Regions from separate parts of the Homo sapiens genome. Here region 2 is linked to region 1. The links are contacts of gene promoters, found by promoter capture Hi-C in blood cells and fetal thymus (Javierre and others, 2016). All regions are on one chromosome and are shown on one strand. The core of a region is centred on a gene start or on the middle of the fragment in contact, and the rest is flanking DNA. Distances in the headings are between cores, read along the strand shown.

Region 1 (4,702 bases), core at 1,403-3,902:
TGCTGCCCTTTGATTCTCTTTTATTTGCAACTATTTCATTATTGAGCTTTTCTTTTAAATACTGGGCCATATTTTTATTACGTTTTTCTATTTCTTCATGCTCTTCTTGAGTCTTTTCCTACAAGAGAGGTTTATGAGGGTTAGAATACATAGCAGAGAAGAAATATGAAGTGGAGCATCAGCTAGTGGAGATAATAAAAATGCTTATTTAAAAGAGCTGGTTGCTATTTTAAATAATCCTTATTTAAATAGCTGATTGCTAAAAATGGGTGGTTATTCTATCCCATAAATTAAAATGAGTATTAAAAGGAAACCTTATTAATTTTAATATTCTGTACTTTTTAATGGTGTTTAATTTCAGAAGCAGTTAAAAATTGTTTTGAAAACCTCATAGAATTGTTCATCGATACACTGAAGCTTTGATTTTGTATCTACCAAATAGGCATCTAGTACCCAACAGTCCTGAGTTAGGGCAATAATTTCCTTATTATTCCAATATATTATAAATGTGATACTATAAATATATTAGAATAAGGAAATTATTGCCCTAAAATTAACATCCCTACAATGTCTACTAATCTAGTATAGAATGTACATGAACTTCCTCTGAGAACATAACATAATGTATGGGAAATTAGATACGTTTGACATTTTGGAATATATATATATTTAAAAACCTCAATTTTGATTTTGAATATATATATATACATATATATATTTAAAACCTCAATTTTGATTCTATTTTTTCAGTTCTTTGACAACTGCCATGATACTCTGTCTAGGACAAGTTTACTATCCCAGTTTCTTGTGAAAGAAAGTGCCTAGGAACCAGGGCCAGCTGTAAGATGAAACAGGATTATGCAGACATTGAGAAATAATTGCTTAGTCTGGGAAATAAAATGGGCCTTTTATCAATAATATGTATTAGATTCTTGCACATCAATTATAATGCTTTTCTATGCAACTTGTGGGCCTCATAGATATCATTTTGAAAGCCAGTATAGCAAGTTGAGACACAGGTTCATTTGAGCAAAAATTTCATGCTCATAACATAGGTCAGAAGAGACAGTGACAAGTCACCTTAACCACCTGAAGTCTTCACCACTGCATTTCTCACCTTGACCAGAAGGGGGAGCCAACCATCAAGCTGTTCAAGTTATACCAGAGGAAGGAAAAACATGTTGCAAGTACTCGTTTTTACCCCCTGAAACTGGCATTCACATAGAATTGGCTTTTCATCCATTGATCTCCAGTTGTAAAAAATCTGCAAATTGTACCTTGAACTCTAACCTGATCAATCCAGCTGTTTCTTTTCTTAATCTTAGCACATGTTTAAACTCTACTGACTGTAAAACCAATTGACAACTTTCCTTAATTACAGCCAGCTTCAGAGTAATTTAACAAGATGTATCTTTGTAAACAGGCATAACCTAAAGAGACTTTACCTAGGAGGCATCTCTGTCCTCTTTTTGTTAAGTCATTTTCAAGTGGAACATAAAAAAAAAAATTATGCTCATGCACAGTAAGTTTGCAGAGTTAACAATTCTAGCTTTCAGGTTTTAGAAAGTGAAGAACTAGCTTCAAAACCACTTAATAGCCATCGATTTCTAAATGTCATCACTGACAGCCAATACATAGTAATAATATAAGACATTTTCTGGTTATTCGACTTGGTTTAATTGCAGGTTGTGTGGCCAGACTTCAGGAGGACTGAAATGTTTGACACTGTGTGCGAAACACTGCGTATGTTTGGATGTGCCAGAGAGACAGAGGCTACAGAGCTGTCATTACTTTCTCAAAGGGGCCTGCAATAAAAAAGAAAGAGAGAGGTAAGGACAACTGCCTCTGGGTTATGAGTTAAGTCACTAAGTATCGTGGCAATAGAACACAGGCTTTCTGACACAGCAAACCCGACAGCAATTTTTAAAAAGAGACATTTGCAAGAAATTACCCAATTTTCCCCTTGTAAATATAAATGTGTTTCAGAAAGTTCCAGTCGGAGTAGGATTAAATATTATGGTTTAATCTAGATATGGCAAAAACAAAGCAGAACCAAACCCTGGAGTCTTGAGAAATCACAGTTACAACAGAGAGACCTAACAGCCCATCCCAGGCAGCCATTTCTCGGTTGTACACAAATCTCTGGTTACCTCGGATTTCACAAAGGTGACAGGAACTCGTTCCTCTTCCAGCATGCGCCTGGATGCCTTTTCCCAATACATATAATCAACAAGAGATTTATGATTGAAGTTTCCTGTCGGTGGCTTGTCAGTTTGATCTTTCTGAATCATTCCCACGGGAAGGCTGGGGTCAGGGGCCATGACTTCCATTTCCGACTGCAGTTCTTTCAGTTCTTCAGCAGACAAGTTGGCCAAGATTTCATCTTCATTAATCTCCTCATCGAGAAGTTCTTCTTGATCTGAATTTCTGCTGTGCTCTGACATTATTTTTTCTAAATATTATTTTACTAGAAAAGAAGAATAATCAAAGATGATTTTTAAAAAGAAGGAAAAAAGCCTCAAGAAGGTCCCCCAGTTAACGAGTGTCCCAAGTTAACACACCCTTGAGATATTTTTTTTTTTTTCCCAGGAACCTCAGTGGTTTGCTGAGCAGCTAGGAGTGATCACAGCTAAGCTCTTGCCGGATCTATATTAAGCAGGGCTTGGCTGGATGGGGTCAATTTATGGAACAACTATGCTGCTCTCTTTTTGGCAACTTGAGTCAGCTGCGCAAATCCATCTGACATTTCAGTACAGCTGCTATGTTTGCCAGAGACTAGCAGAGACTACAGAATCTCTGCAGGAATAAAATTAATTATCTTCCTATATGCCATCATATTGCCATACACAAATTCATGCAGCTCATACATACATACCCCAATACTCCAGGGGATTCCACTTGTTTTTATTTAAATATTAAAGCAACTTACAATATTTCAGAAGGGAAATCCAACCAGCAACCTGAGTTGTTTCTGAAGTAAAGAATTCACTTGAAGGTAGAAATCAAGCTCTTAGGGTCTGCCTCTTCCCTACAAGGTGAGTGTGGAAGCAAATAAAGTGGTGCACAGTGGAACAGAGGTCTTGCTATGTCACTCATCCTCTGTGTAAGCCGAACCTTTGCAAGATGTCCTGTTTGCATCTAGATCCTGTGATCTAACAGATGGGGACAACCAGCACTTGGATTTCCACTATAAGTGAGTTTAATATTTTAAATTATTTGCTTTTCTTATTAAGTATCCATTAAGCCAATATCAATGAAAATGGCTCTAAAGTGAAGTGTTAAAAAAGAAATCCAGACCACTAATATACTAAAAGAAACTATGAGAAGATTTTGTTTTCAAACCCTGAAGGGGCAATATGCAACATTTGTCCAAATTACAAATGCCCATTTCCTTTGACCCAGCAATTCCACTTTGAGAAGTGTATCCTACAGATATACCCCTACATGGGTGAAACAACGTGTGTACAAGGTTACACAATATAGCAAAGTACAAAACAGTGTGTTTTACATGCCATTATTTGTGTGACAAAGGGTACAATAATATATAATATACAAGTTTTATTATATATATATTTAAGACAGGGTCTGGCTCTGTCACCCAGGCTGGAGGGCAGTGCTGCGATCTCAGCTCACTGCAACCTCTGCCTCCCAGGATCAAGCTGGGACCACAGGCATGCACCACTACACCCAGCTAATTGTATTTTTTGTAGAGACAGGGTTTTGCCATATTGCTCAGGCTGGTCTCGAATTTCTGAGTTCAAGCAATCCACCTGCCTCGGTGTCCCAAAGTTCTGGGATTACAGGCGTGAGCCACCGTGCCTGGCTCGTAAATATATTCTTATTCCGAAATATACATTCATTGTACAAGAGTTAGGATAACATAGAAAGGCACAGAACAAAATCTTCCCCTTACCTCACTGTGAAGCTACCACTATTAACATTTCAGTTTTTTCATTCCAGTCCTTTCTTTTAGGCATACAAACTCTATCATTTTTTCTCATCTGTTTTTTTGACTGAGAAAGTCAGGATTCTTTTTTTCTAGGCAACTGTGTACTCTACTACTAAATAATTTTTTATTGCCCTCTGTTAGGATTCTTTATATGGATGTACCATAATTTGTATAACCAATCCTCAATTGTTGGATATTTAGAATGTTTTCAATTCTCACAAGCACAAATAGTTCTTTAATAAATATCCCTATACCTAAATAGTTTATAAACACACAAGTTTATTTCTTTAGAGTAAATTGAACAAATTCTAAAAAGTGAAATTGCTAGGTCACAGAATACGAAGAAATTAAATACTTTTTATATGTAGATTAAAGTAACAGCAAAAATCACAATTACTTTTGCACCAACCTACTAGGACCCATCTCCAATCTACTTATATTAAATATTTACAAATACTATACATGTTGGCCGGGCGCCGTGCTCATGCCTGTAATCCCAGCACTTTGGGAGGCCGAGGCGGGCAGATCACCTGAGGTCAGGAGTTCAAGACCAGCCTGGCCAATATAGCAAAACTCTATCTCTACTAAAAATACAAAAATTAGCCAGGCGTGGTAGCAGGCACCTGTAGCCCCAGCTACCCGGGAAGCTGAGGCAGAGAATCACCTGAACCTGGGAGGCAGAGGCTGCAGTGAGCTGAGATCACACAACTGCATTCCAGCCTGGGTGGCAGAGCAAGACTCCATCTTAAAATA
Region 2 (4,349 bases), core at 171-2,670, 520 kb after region 1:
ATGCCAGCAGCATTTATTGAATAGGGAATCCTTTTCCCATTGCTTGTTATTGTCAGCTTTGTCAAAGATCAGATGGTTGTAGATGTGTGGCATTATTTCTGCATTCTCTATTCTGTTTCCTTGGTCTATGTGTCTGTTTCTGTACCAGTAACATGCTGTTTTGATTACTGTAACCCTATAGTTTGAAGTCAGGTAGTGTGATGCCTCTGGCTTTGTTCTTTTTGCTTAGGATTGCCTTGACTATTTTGTTCTCTTTGTTTCTTTCATATAAATTTAGAATAGCTTTTTCTAAATCTGTGAAAATTACATTGGTAGTTTAATGGAAATTGTATGGAATCTATAAATTGCTTTGGGCAATATGCCCATTTTAACAATATTAATTTCTCCTGTCCATGAGCATAGACTGTTTTTCCATTTGTTTGTGTCATCTCTGATTTCTTTCAGTGGTGTTTTATAATTTTCATTGTAGAGATCTTTCACCTCCCTGGTCAACTGTATTCCTAACTAATTTTTGTGTGTCTGTGGCTATTGTGAATTTGGCTCTCAGCTTGGAGTTATTGGTGTATGGAAATGTTCCTGAGTTTTGTATATTGATTTTGCATCCTGAAACTTTACTGAAGTTGTTTATCAGTTCTAGAAATTTTGGGACAGAGACTAAGGGGTTTTCTAGGTATAGAATCACATCATCTGCAAAGAGAGATAGTTTGACTTCCCCTCTTCCTATCTTGATGCCTTTAATTTCTTCCTCTTGACAAATTACTTTGGCTAGGGCTTCCTAGTATGTATTTTAAACAAAGACATTTGAAGCAATTAAATATTTTAGTGTTAATCTTTGCAACCATTACTTAATTTGAAAGAAACAACATTTCACTGTCTTTTCTTTAAAATAGCATGAGTTAGATGGTAACTGTATTAGCCAAAGTTCTCCAGAAAAACAACCAATAGGATGTGTATGTGGTGTGTGTGAGTGTGTGTGTGTGTGTGTGTGTGTGTAGAAAGAGATTATAAGAAATTGGCTCACACAGTTATGGATGCTGTAGTTGGCAATCTGGAGACCTAAGAGAGCTGATGGTATAGTTGTAGTCCAAGTCCAAGGGCCTGAGAAGCAGAAGAGCCAAATGTGTAAATTACAATCTGAGTCCAAGTTTGAAGGCAGGAGATCAATGTCTCAGCCTGAAGACAGTTAGGCAGAAAGAGGAGATTCTCCCTACTCTGCCTTTTGTTCTAATCAGGCCTTCAACAGATTGGATGAGGCTCACCCACATTGGGTTGGGCAATTTACTTTTCTCCGTCCACCAAGTCAAATGTTAATCTCATTCACAAACACCTTTATAAACACACACAGAATAATGTTTAACTAAATATCTGGGCACCCAATGGCACAATCAAGTTGACACATAAAATTAACCACCATGGTGACTATCGCTTATCGTGGGATAAATAATTCCATTGTATCCTGTTTACAACAAGACTTGAACATCAGACATAGTATATACTTGCAAATCAGGGCAACTAATACAACAGAAAGTTTTATTGATTTTTAGCATCTTTCTGGGAGTTACAAAACATCACTAGCATTAAAAGCCTGGATGGGGAAAGAAGTAAGAGTATTCTATTCAACACAGTTTTGGAAGTCCTGGCCAGAACAATCAGGCAAGAGAAAGAAATAGAAGGCATCCAGATAGGAAAAGAATAAGTCAAACTATCCCTGTTTGCAGATGACATGATTCTATACCTAGAAAACCCCATAGTCTCTGCCAAAAAAGCTCATTGAACTAATAAGCAACGTCAGCAAAGTTTCAGGATACAAAATAAACAGACAAAAATCAGTAGCATTCTTAACCCCCAATGACATTCAAGCCAAGAGCCAAATCAGGAATGAGATTCCAGTCACAATTGCCACAAAAAGAATAAAATACCTAGGGATACTGCTAACCAGAAAGTGAGAGATCTCTACAATGAAAATTACAGAGCACTGTTGAAAGAATTAAGATACTACAGAAGCAAATGGAAAAACATTCTATGCTCATGGATAAAGAGAATCAATATTGTTAAAATGGCCATACTGCACAAAGCAATTTATAGAGTCAATGCTATTCCTATCAAACTACCAATTACATTTTTCAAAAAAAATAGGAAAAGCTGTTAAAAAGTTCATATGGAACTGGCCCGGTGCGGTGGCTCATGCCTGTAATCCCAGCACTTTGGGAGGCTGAGGTGAGTGGATCATGAGGTCAGGAGATCAAGACCATCCTGGCCAACATGGTGAAACCCCATCTCTACTGAAAATACAAAAATTAGCTGGGTGTGGTTTCACGTGCCTGTTATCCCAGCTACTCAGGAGGCTGAGGTGGGAGAATCGCTTGAACCGGGGAGGTGGAGGTTGCAGTGAGCCGACATCGTGCCACTGCACTCCAGCCTGGCAACAGAGTGAGACTCCGTCTAAAAAAAAAAAAAAAATTCATATAGAACCAAAAAAGATCCCAAATAGTCAAGATATTCCTAAGCAAGAATAAAGCAGGAAGCATCATGTTACCCAACTTCAAATTATATTACAGGGCTACAATAACCAAAACAGAATGATACTGGTACAAACACAGACACATAGACCAATGGAGCAGAATAGAGAGCCCCAAAATAATGCCACACATCTACAACAAAGCTGACAATAACAAGCCAGGGTGAAAAGGACTCTCTATTCAATAAATAGTGCGGGCATAAACGTCTAGCAATATGCAGAAGATTGAAACGGGACCCCTTCCTTATACTATATACAAAACTCAACTCAAAATGGATTAAAGAATTAAATGGAGAACCTAAAACTATAAAAACCTCGGAAGATAACCTAGGAAATACTATTCTGGACATAGAAACTGGCAAAGATTTCATGACAAAGAGACCAAAAGCAATTGCAACAAAAGCAAAAATTGACAAATGGGATCTAATTAAACTAAAGAACTTTGACACAGCACAAGAAACTATCAACATAATAAACAGATAAACAGCCAGGCGCAGTGGCTCATGCCTGTAATCCCAGCAGTTTGGGAGGCTGAGGCAGGCAGATCACTTGAGGCCAGAAGTTTGAGACCAGCCTGGCTAATATGTTAAAACCCCGTCTCTACTAAAAATACCAAAAATTTAGCTCGGCATGGTGGCACACGCCTGTGGTCTCAGCTACTCAGGAGGCTGAGGAACGAGAATCACTTGAACCCAGGAGGCAGAGGTTGCAATTAGCCAAGATGGCGCCACTGCACTCCAGCCTGGGTGACAGAGAGAGAGTCTGCCTCAAAAAATAAAAAATAAATAAATAAATGAATAAATAAACATACAACCTACAGAATAGGAGAAAATATTTCCAAACTATGCATCTGACAAAGGTTTAATTCCAGGATCTATCAGCATCTATAAGGAACTTAAACAAATTTACAATAGAAAACAACCACATGAAAAAGTGGGCAAAGGACATGAATAAATACTTTTCAAAAGAAGACATACATGCAGCCAACAAACATATGAAAAAGCTCAATATCACTAATCATTAGAGAAGTGTAAATCAAAACCACACAGAGATACCATCTCACACCAGTTAGAATGGCTATTATCAAAAAGTCAAAAAATAACAAATGCTGCAAGGCTGCGGAGAAAAGGGAACATTTATACTCTGCTGGTGGGAGTGTAAACTAGCTCAACCATGCTGGAAAGCAGTGTGGCAATTCCTCAAAGACTTAAAAATAGAACTACCGTTTGACCCAGCAATCCCATTACCCAAAGAAATATAAATCGTTTTACCATAAAGACACGTGCACGCATGTGTTCATTGCAGCACTATTCACAATAGCAAAGACATGGAATCAACATAAAGGCCCATCAACAGTAGACTGGATAAAGAAATATAGTACATATACACCATGGAATACTATGCAGCCATAAAAAGAATGAGATCATTTCTTTTGCAGGAACATGGATGGAACTAGAGGCCATTATTCTTAGCAAACTAACGGAGGAACAGAAAAACCAAATATTGCATGTTCTCACTTATAAGTGGGAGCTAAATAATGAAAACCAATGGACATAGGGAGGGGAACAACAGACAGTGGGGCCTACTTGAGGTGGGAGGATGGGAGGAGGGAACAGATCAGGAAAAATAACTATCAGGTACCAGTCTTAGTAGATGGTGACAAAATCATCTGTACACCAAACCCCTGTGAAACGAAGTCTACCCATATAACAAACCTGCACATATATTCCTGAATCTAAAATAAAAGTTAAAGAAAAGAATTAGGAGTATGTGGCAGTGAAGGGTTAAGTCTTGGTTTTGCTAAGGTCATTGGTGACAGTAATAATTAATA

What was found. Contacts are between HindIII fragments. The CHiCAGO score rates a contact against its expected background, and 5 or more counts as called.
Region 2: a contact is called between a fragment that was not itself captured here and the fragment with the promoter of LMOD3 in region 1, in 1 of 17 cell types (M2 macrophages). The highest score is 5.5, in M2 macrophages.

What each region holds. Positions count from the first base shown.
Region 1 is chr3:69,119,943-69,124,644 of GRCh38, forward strand. It overlaps LMOD3 (leiomodin 3), which reads right to left and starts at 2,653. Exons shown (of 3, transcript NM_198271.5): 1 at 2,151-2,653; 2 at 1-118. The coding sequence starts at 2,444. RefSeq lists an enhancer at 1,508-2,707. The HindIII fragment of the contact is 5,880 bases long and covers 416-4,702 here.
Region 2 is chr3:69,638,261-69,642,609 of GRCh38, forward strand. No RefSeq gene overlaps it. Among named protein-coding and RNA genes, the nearest start is that of MITF, 99 kb to the right of the region's middle. The HindIII fragment of the contact is 5,935 bases long and covers 1-4,349 here.